Regions from separate parts of the Homo sapiens genome. Here all the other regions are linked to region 2. Evidence: promoter capture Hi-C in 16 types of primary human blood cells and fetal thymus (Javierre and others, 2016). All regions are on one chromosome and are shown on one strand. Each heading gives the region's core, a stretch centred on a gene start or on the middle of the fragment in contact. The rest is flanking DNA. Distances are from core to core; before and after follow the strand shown.

Region 1 (3,083 bases), core at 201-2,700, 4.5 Mb before region 2:
TTTTACTCATTGAATCATATTCACTACACATCTTTTAAAATTAATACAGTATCTATGGGTCCTTTGTTGATACAGTATTTTAACTGTCTGAAATACTGTGCCAGGCACTTTCTAAAGACATAAAAATAAGAGGGGGTGTTCAAGAACAAGAGTAGACAAGAAAACAGCAGGAGGAAAGATCTGCGGACACTAAAGGAAAGGAAAGAATAGACACCCTCTTACCAAAAAGTTGTTCTTCTTTTGTTTGATGTTTATTTTTATGTAAAAATGTACTAACGAATTTGAAAGATGCCATGACTAAGGCAACGATGCTCCACTCTGATTCACTTGGAGTTGAATCACTTGGAAAGCTTTTAAAACTACGTAGGTGCCCACGTGCTACCTAGATTCTGATTTAAATGTTCTGAGATTTAGAAACAGCCGTTGAGTTGTCAGTTGAAGGTTCTGAAAGCTTAATGCTAAACTCAGTTGCCTGTGTTTATTCAGTCCAAGTTGCTGTCCAAGTCAGCAACTTGGACTGAAACGGCCCACTTAGAAGAGAAGCCTCTCATGGTTTGTATCCCTGTCTAGGTGTGATAGTGGGTCTACCCCCAGACTCCACAGGTAACCCTGACATTATTTTTTCTTCTACAGCTGATCTTTTTTTTTTTTTTGAGATGAAGTCTCACTTCTTCCCCCAGGCTGGAGTGCAGTGACACAATCATAGCGCACAGCAGCTCTGAACTCCTGAGCTAAAGTGATCTTCCTGCCTCTGCCTCCCAAGTAGCTGGGATTACAGGCATGAGCAGCTGTGCCCAGCACTTACAGTTGATTTTATGTCTGTATATTTGCATGTTATGGGCTATTTTCTGGCTTTGGTGCCTTAGCCAATTAGAGTTTAGCTAGTTATAGCCTCATCTCTTAGACAACTTAAGGTGTGGTCAGTGAGCTCTAACAGGCACGTCATTGCATAGCTTTTACAGATAATCCATTCTTTGGGTTTTTTTGTTTTTTAAACATAATTCTTTAGTCCTGCCAGTCATTTTGGAATGATCGCTTAGGAGAGGGGTAATGCAAGCCCCACCCTTAATCACCTGAACAAAGTCCCTTTGACTAACCCCAATATTTGTGAAACTTAGAAAATGTCATTTTACAGTTAACATGAATCAAATATACCAGTAAGCCTAAAAGATTATAATAGCACTGAGCTTAGAGTCAGAACTCCAAGCAACTTGAGTTACTTATTTCCTCCATTTTCTTTTTAGTGAGCTTCAGTTATTCAGATGTTAGTCCTCTAATTTTCTTTTCCCCTTTTTCAACATGACACCTTCATCCTTAAGAGGGCCTGCTGTCCTCCTAGCTAGAGAATCAGCGTTTTGCTGTCTTTCAGGACTAAATCTCTGGGTTTTTGATGGGATAGCAAAGGGAATCTCAGCATCTGATTCATTCTTAAACAGACTTTATACCATTCCGCCTGTATTTATAGCTCACATCATGCTCTCTTCAGCTTTACGTGGTGTTTCCAATTCCTGAGCCTTATACAGGGTTTCACTGTGTGTATCAGGTTGCTTCATGGCCTGCTTGGGATTCCTACTTTTCAAGTCTGCTAAGGCAATTGCATCTTGATTCATCTCCCTTCTAGCTTTCAATATTTTGTTGCTAAATGTTCAACATTACTTAAAATGTAAAAGTGAACAAGGAAATACCATTTTTCATCTATCAGTGACTGAGAAAGAAGGAGTTGAGCAGAAGATCTGCAATCCAGTCTCTCCCTTCGTAGGGAAATACTCTCAGGAAAGCAAGGTTAAAGCAAGCAAAAAAGCATGTGATTTTTATAAAATATAAAGTATATACTAATTACAGACCTCCTGGCAAACAAACTAATGGCATTTGCTAGCAAGAGAGTCCATATTTACGGAATTCCTCTAACAGGATGTCCCAGGGCTGGGATTGTTTATGGTAAACACATTAAGAATCGATGTGGTAATTCCAGCACTTTGGGAGGCTGAGGCAGGTGGATCACTTGAGGTCAGGAGTTACCAGCCTGGCCAACATGGCAAAACCCCGTCTCTACCAAAACTACAAAAATTAGCTGAGTGTGGTGGTGTACACTTGTAACACCAGCTACTCAGGAGGCTGAGGCAGAAGAATAGCTTGCACTGGAGATGCGGAGGTTGCAGTGAGCAGAGATCGCGCCACCGCCCTCCATCCTGGTCAACAGAATGAGACTCCCTCTCACAAAACAAAAAAGAATCAATGCGGATTTCAGGGGTATGATTAACTGGAAAATACCGCGGAAGTTATGTAACGTAGCATAAAATGGAAGTGTTTTGTAACTGATTTGGCTCCTTCTGTGTAAGTGGGGTGACTGTACACTTGATTTAGAAACCACATCTACTGTCCTGGGCCAGGATGCATCCAAAGCAAGAAGAAAGGACCTGGGGATTACTGGTATCCTTGAAACTATTAGTAAAGCTTGATACTGAGTAAAATCTCTGATTTGAGCCTGATTTGACAGTTTGATCTTTTGTGTTAGCTCAATAGCAAAAATAAAAAAAATTTGATACTACAATATTGGGTGTGTGTATGTGTGGTATGGGAGCAGCGTGGGAGGAACAAGCATTCTTAAACAGTAAGAGTATAAAAATTGGTGCATTTTTAAAAATTTCATGGTAATTATATGTATCAAAATTTTATATGAAGTTCTTTTTGATCTAATAATTTTACTTCTAAAATTTATCCCATGGGTATACAGGTTGTATATAAAAGTATTCTATAAAAATATCTGTTACAGGATTTTTGTAACAGAGTGAAAAAAAAAACTCTAAATGTTCAGCAATAGGAAATTGCTGAAATGAGTCATAGTCTAGCCATTCAATAGAATAGTATGCAGCCATTAAAATGAACTAGATAGATCTATATGTGCTGACATGGAATACCTCTATGATGCTATAAGGTGAGAAAAGTAAGGTGCAAAATAGTGTGTAGACTCTACTTCCATTTGAGCATCACACACACACACACACACACACACACACACACACCAGGAGGACTGTGAATCTGGCATGGAAAGTGTTATGGACTGAATTATGTCCCCTCAAAAT
Region 2 (3,003 bases), core at 457-2,956:
AAGTACGAAACACTACCACTTCTTAAGCAGCTAGCTAACAGCAATTACTTCTCATAATCCTACCAATATCTAAAATCCAATAAAAATTCCAAAACACTCTCAAGCAAGACAATCAACACCACCTTTCACTTCATATGACTAACCTCTCTATCCCAAATGTCATGACTAAATGTTACTCTGTATCATTCAAGATGCCAACTATGACGACAAAATGTCTATACCTAGCATTTCTCAAGTCAGAAGTTCCAGTATACTCTGTTATCCAGTATAGTACAGTTACATCTGACACAGGGATGTTATTTAACAAACGTGGTTCTCTCTTTTCAAGACACTTGGTGGAGAAGTGAAAAATCTGTTAACAGACTTTGACTACAGTCGTCTCAACAGCCGATTCCTAAGTGGCCCATCCTTTGAAATGGAAGAAGATATTTACACATACATACGATAGGTACTTACATTATTATAAAAAGCATGTCTTTATAAGACATCCATGCTTATGTTTACAGCATCATCTACCATACTTCAAATAAATTTTGACCAACTCCACCCCTCTGCATCCGAGGAAGCTTAGTCCTCTCCATTTGCAAATTTCATTCATCTCAACAAGGACTCCTGATTGACTGAGTGTTCAATTCATCAGAGAGGCAAAAATTTTAAGACTCAACCTCTCTGCCAACTTTGTTATCCAAAACCATTTATTTGACCTTCCACCTCTTCCCTCGTCATTCGTTAAACTCCCTTCACTTCCTCCTCAGCAACACTTACCTACCTCTTTATTATCCCCACCCTGCCTCGCTACTCCAACATTCCTTCACCCCACCAACCAGGAGCTCGAATGCCTGCAAACGCTCGATTCCCTCTGCAGACACCACCACAGCACCAGTATCCCAAGCTCTCCAACAAGCCACCCCCACACCAGACCCCCCGCCCCCAAGCCTAAGCGGCAGAAACTCATAATTTAGGGACAAGGAGGGAGTGCTCTTCAAACCCACCATACGAAGTCGTTGCTTTTGTCCTCGTAGGAGTTGATGAGCCCGTTGCAGAGGGGGGCGAGGAGAGGTCGCTTCCTGCTGCCGCTGCCTAGGCTGGAGCTGCTGCCTCCTACGCCGGCGCTGGGCCTGGCCGCGCAGCTGTGCCGGGACAGGCCCGTGGACACCGCCCCGCCGCCGCTACCCGATACGGCGGGCGCCACCAACACAGGCCGCACCGGGCCCCCGAGGCCGCCCGAGCCGGCGGCCTGGGCCACCCCGCCGGACACCAGCGCTGCCGCCGAAACCGCCACGGAAGGCGGCGACGGGGAAGAGGATAAAGACGAGGAGGCGGAAGTCACCGAGGAGGCCGCCGAGGACCCGGGGCTTGTCCCAGCGGAGCCCGACCCGGCCTGGCGGCTACCAGACATCGTGACTCCCTCCCCTCCAGCCGGGCGCTCGGAGGAGAGGGACCGCGACCTCGACCCTCCGCCGCCTCCCCTCCCCTCAGCCTCAGTGCATCCTGAGGACGCCCGCCGAGCCGGAGGTGGGGCTGAGGAACAATAAAGTTGCGTTTTTTTTTAAGGCAGCCACACAACAGCGTCCCACGGGAGGGGGCGGAGGAAACTAAAAAAGCGGAGTAGAAGGCACTACCGCTGTCGAGGCCGCCGCCGCCACCGCGGTCCCTGTAGCAGCCAACCCCGGCGCGCCGTGGCCGGCCGTGCGCGCGCGCGCGAGCGGCGGAAGAGGCGGGCGTGGCGGGGGATACAACTGGGGACGCAGCGGGGCTGCGCTCAGACGCTCAGGGCGCGCCCTCGGGGTCGGGGCTCCCTGGCGAAGGGAGTCTGTCTGTCCCAAGCCGCTTTCGTTCCAGAAAACGTGCCAGAGGGCAGGCCGTCTTAATACAGTGAAAGAATTGAGGAGACTGGAATGAATGGTATAGGTGGTGGGGTGGTTTGAAAGACGGGAACGTAGCGGGCGGAAACTCTCGAAAAGCGACTGCGCAGGCGCGCGCCGGGCGCGGACGCTCACGGGTCACCCAGGGTATCCGCCCCAAGCGGAGAATATCGGCGCAAGCGCGGAGTAGCCGTGTCACGCATGCGTGCGAACGCACCACATTCCGGAACGGGAAGAAGGAGCTGTCTCTCTCTTCTGAGGGGTAGGCAGGTGCTTCCGAATCGCGGAATGTAGGTGCTCATAAGCTGGAGACCCACGGAAAGAACCTAGAAGCTCCGAGCGGTTGCAGACAGCACTGCATTGAGCCAACGACTCCTGCTCTACTGATGGTGATTCCACAGCTTTGTGAGGAATAAGTTAAGATGAAGTCAGTGAAGTTTTCTGCGAATTGCAAACATTGTAGCAAGTGTTACCAATTTTATTAGTTCGACCACGACTTCACTCCTATATTTTGAAAAGCTGTTTGCCAAATTGAACATAACAATAATGGGAAAACAGATTTTGCTCAATCAGACCCAGCTCAGTCGGAACCTAGGTTTATTGTGGATCTGATATAATTCTAGCACAAAACAAGGAAACCTAGCATTTAATACCACCAGAAAATATACAATTTCTGGTAGGCTTTTTTAGAATATTGAAAATTGATTATAGGCGGGCGCGGTGGCTCATGCCTGTCATCGCAGCACCTTGGGAGGCCTAGGGGGTCGGATCACCTGAGCCTGGAGGTGAGGATCAGGCTGAACCTGAGGTTAGAGACCAGCCTGGGCAAGATAGCGAAACCCCGTCTCTACAAAAAGTACAAAAAATTAGCTGGGCATGGTGGCAGCAGGCCTGTAGTCCCAGCTACTCGGGAGGCTGACATGGGAGGATTGCTTGAGCTGGGGAGGTTGAGGCTGTAGGGAGCGGAGATCCCTACACTCCAGCCTGTGAGACAGAGACCCTGTCTCAAAAAAAAAAATTTTTTTCATTTGCCGCATTCTAAGGGGTGGGAGTTAGAAACAACTGTGTGATTTTATCCTTTTCAATTCTATCATTCTATGATTCTTATATATTTATTTGGGAATAAAGTGTGAAAATA
Region 3 (3,280 bases), core at 407-2,906, 3.7 Mb before region 2:
TTGAGATTTGTTTAGACTGCCAAATTTAGAGACATTTTAATTATTCTTTAGCAAAACGATTAAAAGGCATTAAAATAGGACATTAAGGCTTAAAGGGTTTTTTAAAGGGTGATGATGATGAATGAGATTGGGGAAGAGGAGTGGTACCTGGTGCTGATTGGCAAAGGGTATGTTTTTTCTTTGAAGCCTCTGCTTTTGTGCCAAGTTGGAATTAATGGCACTTAATGGATTTCTAACTTTTGCTGCAATCTGGTGTGGTATTTCTTTTCCCAACAACCTCATTCCCTTTAACAGAAATGGCTACCAACAAGTCCTAGGGTTAGATAAAACGTTTGCAAGAGTTGATGAGTGCCTTTTAGTAGCCACTTTTGTCTCTTTTGTTATTCACAAATTGTCTCAAAATTTTGTGATCCGTTTCTGTTTTGTACATTGAGTGCTGTATGTCTGTTCTACAGTATTCTAGTTTCTGAGGTTTCCCCTCTCATGCTACCAATATTACTGTGTTATGTTTACTATCATAATTTTGTAGATCTTGATTATGTCTCCCCTCTGCTTTTGTCTTGTAGCCTTGAGTACTAACCTTAGATTATGTTTACAGAAAAACCATTTCATCTATGTCATTATTAATTTTTGTTGCTGTTTTTTCCTTTTGCATAGTTTATAATTTTTGATCAAGTAGTATAGAGTATTCTAGGCATAAATGCACTATAGCTGCAGCACAGAGCAATGATAGCTAATATTTGCTGACAGCTGTGTGTCAGACACATGATGTTTACTTGACAATAACACCTTTAATCTTTATAAGAACCCTATAAGATAGGTATTATTATTAACTTCCTTTTGCATTTTACATGTGAGGAAGTAGAGAGGTTAACTTGGCTAAGTTTAAGCAGCTGTTAAGCTTCGGAGCTTAAATTTGAACCTAGGCAGCACAGGCTCCTGAGTACTTTATAGGTCAGAGGCCTGTATTTTATATATGTGGCTCCATCATTTACTAGATATGTGTTCTTTGACTTGTTATGTAACTTCTTTGAACCTTAGTTGTTATATCCTCAGAATGGGGAAATTGATCCATTCATACTTCACAGGGTTGTTAGGAGGATGAAATAATACAAATGACAGATCTTTGTAACACAGTAACAGCGTATTATGTAAATATTTCATCATAACATTATTCAACCACATTTTGTTCTCATACCTACTGTGCCAGATGTTTTTATGAGCACCGAAAATCCAAGATAGAGGGTCACCAGCTTGTCTTGGTTTTAACACTGGAAGTCGCATAACCTAGGAATTCCCTGCATTAGTTTCTTATGCCTGCTGTAGCAAATTGACACAAATTTAGTGGCTTGAACAACACACATTTATTACCTTACAATTCTGTGGATGAGAAGTCCAAGATATGTCTCACAGGGCTAAATAAAGTTAAGATGTCAACTGGGCTCGTTCTTTTTGGAGGCTCTGAGGGGAGAATCTTTTTCTAGAGGCCACCTGTATTCTGTGGCCCCTTCCTCACATCAGCACTCCAACCCTTTTTTCAGTCCTTATGTCTACTAATGACTGGTCCTCCTGCCTCTTCCTCTTATAAGGACTATTGTGATTACATTGGGTCCAGCCAGACATTCCAGGATAATCTCCCTATCTCATAATCCTTAATTTAATCACATCTGCAAAATCTCTTTTACTATGTAAGGTAACATATTTAGGGATTAGGATGCAGACATCTTTGAGGGGGGCGCATTATTCAGCCTATACCCTATACCATACTCCCTCAGTCCTGGGCAAACTGGGAAAGCTGCATCACCCTAAAGAGGAAAAAAACATAATTAGTGGATATTCTGAGTGTGTCCCTTAATTAGTAAAACCTTGTGCATCCACCTTAATTGTCTATAAGTTATGTACATGTGCCAATATAGTAATAGTATATTAGTGTATGTAATTAATGCAAGTTAGATATTTAAGAAAAATGAGAAAAAAATAATAATTTCTGTTAACGGTACCTTTTGTTCTCATTAAAATAATAATTTTTAGTGAGAGCTATGTGATTGACCTACTAGATTATTTTATGTCATAGTATAGAAGAGGAATAGCTTCAACTACTTAGGAGTCAGCCCTGTCATTTTCTTGTTGGCTGTGCTTGCATTATTAAATTCTTTGCAGTAATTTTTTTAAAAGCTGCTTCCCGATGTTGTGAGGGTCAATTCAGTTAAAACTGAATAATTCCTAAGTCTACCTAACTGGGGAAACATAAACCACAGTGAATCATGGTGTGCTGTAAGTAAAACCCATTGTTTGTGGGACTTCCACTCTTTCCCTGGGTTTCTGTATGAATCCTTACATTAATCTTAGTAAAACTTATTTTTTAAAACTAAACAAATCTATTCTTCCTTCACCCCAAAGGATCATCTTGGAGAAGCTTATATTTAGACTTTCGGGAAGAGCTTGACATTTAAACAAGTCTCATACATTTGGCAAATATAACAGGTACTTACAAAGGTTTTTAGGAACAGCAAAGGAAGAATTCATATCCTACTTGTGGTTCTGTCACTAACTGTATGTCTTTGGACAAGTTACTTCTGTGAACCTCAGCTCTCATCCATAAAATGGTCTGCAGGATGGATAGTTCACAATGAGCGAATTTTGTTGTAGGCAGAGAGAACACTTACCCAGTTATCTAGAGCGTGAGTGTATGTGAGGAGAGATGGGAAGGGAGGCTAGAGCTAGGTTTTGAAAGGATTTGATTATCATGCAGATGAATTCTAATTCTAACCACCTGACAGAGGATGAGTAAGTGAAGTGGTTTAAACTGGAGAACAGGAGCATGAGGTCACATGGATCTTTTAATTAGATTGCTGTGGAGGGTAAAGTGGAATGTAGGGGACGTACTTTGGAGGCACGAGGTCCTAAGTCGTGGTCCCACTAGAAGAGAGTTGATATCTAAATCAAGATGTTGGCCTTTTTGTCCTTAGTAGTAATTTTTCTGAGTATGTCAGACCAGTTTTTATCAGTTTAAGAGGTTTATTTCCTGGTTTGTGATTACATTTCTGTACCCTTTTGCTTTTTCTCTCATGATTGCTGGTCTATTAATATACATAAGTGAGCAGAAAAAAATTTAAAAACTAGAACAATATATAAGCTGTTTTTTCTTTTTTGAGGTGATGAATAGAGCATATTGGAAACATATCGATAAAACATTTTGAAAATTCCCCAGGAAATCTGGAGGAATTTTTTTGCTTGTTTCTGCTTCTGTCTCTAAACTTTCAAGGTACGGAATCTATTT

What was found. Contacts are between HindIII fragments. The CHiCAGO score rates a contact against its expected background, and 5 or more counts as called.
Region 1: a fragment that was not itself captured here is called in contact with the fragment with the promoter of COP1 in region 2 in 2 of 17 cell types (total CD4 T cells and naive B cells); the score reaches 7.7 in total CD4 T cells.
Region 3: a contact is called between a fragment that was not itself captured here and the fragment with the promoter of COP1 in region 2, in 1 of 17 cell types (total B cells). The highest score is 5.4, in total B cells.

The regions. Positions count from the first base shown.
Region 1 is chr1:171,742,887-171,745,969 of GRCh38, forward strand. No RefSeq gene overlaps it. Among named protein-coding and RNA genes, the nearest start is that of VAMP4, 2.4 kb to the left of the region's middle. The HindIII fragment of the contact is 2,003 bases long and covers 450-2,452 here.
Region 2 is chr1:176,205,580-176,208,582 of GRCh38, forward strand. COP1 (COP1 E3 ubiquitin ligase) reads right to left here and starts at 1,707. Exons shown (of 20, transcript NM_022457.7): 1 at 993-1,707. The coding sequence starts at 1,399. It overlaps COP1-DT (COP1 divergent transcript), which reads left to right and starts at 2,086. Exons shown (of 5, transcript NR_185981.1): 1 at 2,086-2,292. RefSeq lists silencers at 1,145-1,504, 1,535-1,744 and an enhancer at 2,245-2,314. The HindIII fragment of the contact is 7,879 bases long and covers 565-3,003 here.
Region 3 is chr1:172,535,311-172,538,590 of GRCh38, forward strand. The region is part of intron 1 of SUCO (SUN domain containing ossification factor); the gene reads left to right. Among named protein-coding and RNA genes, the nearest start is that of SUCO, 3.8 kb to the left of the region's middle. The HindIII fragment of the contact is 1,515 bases long and covers 900-2,414 here.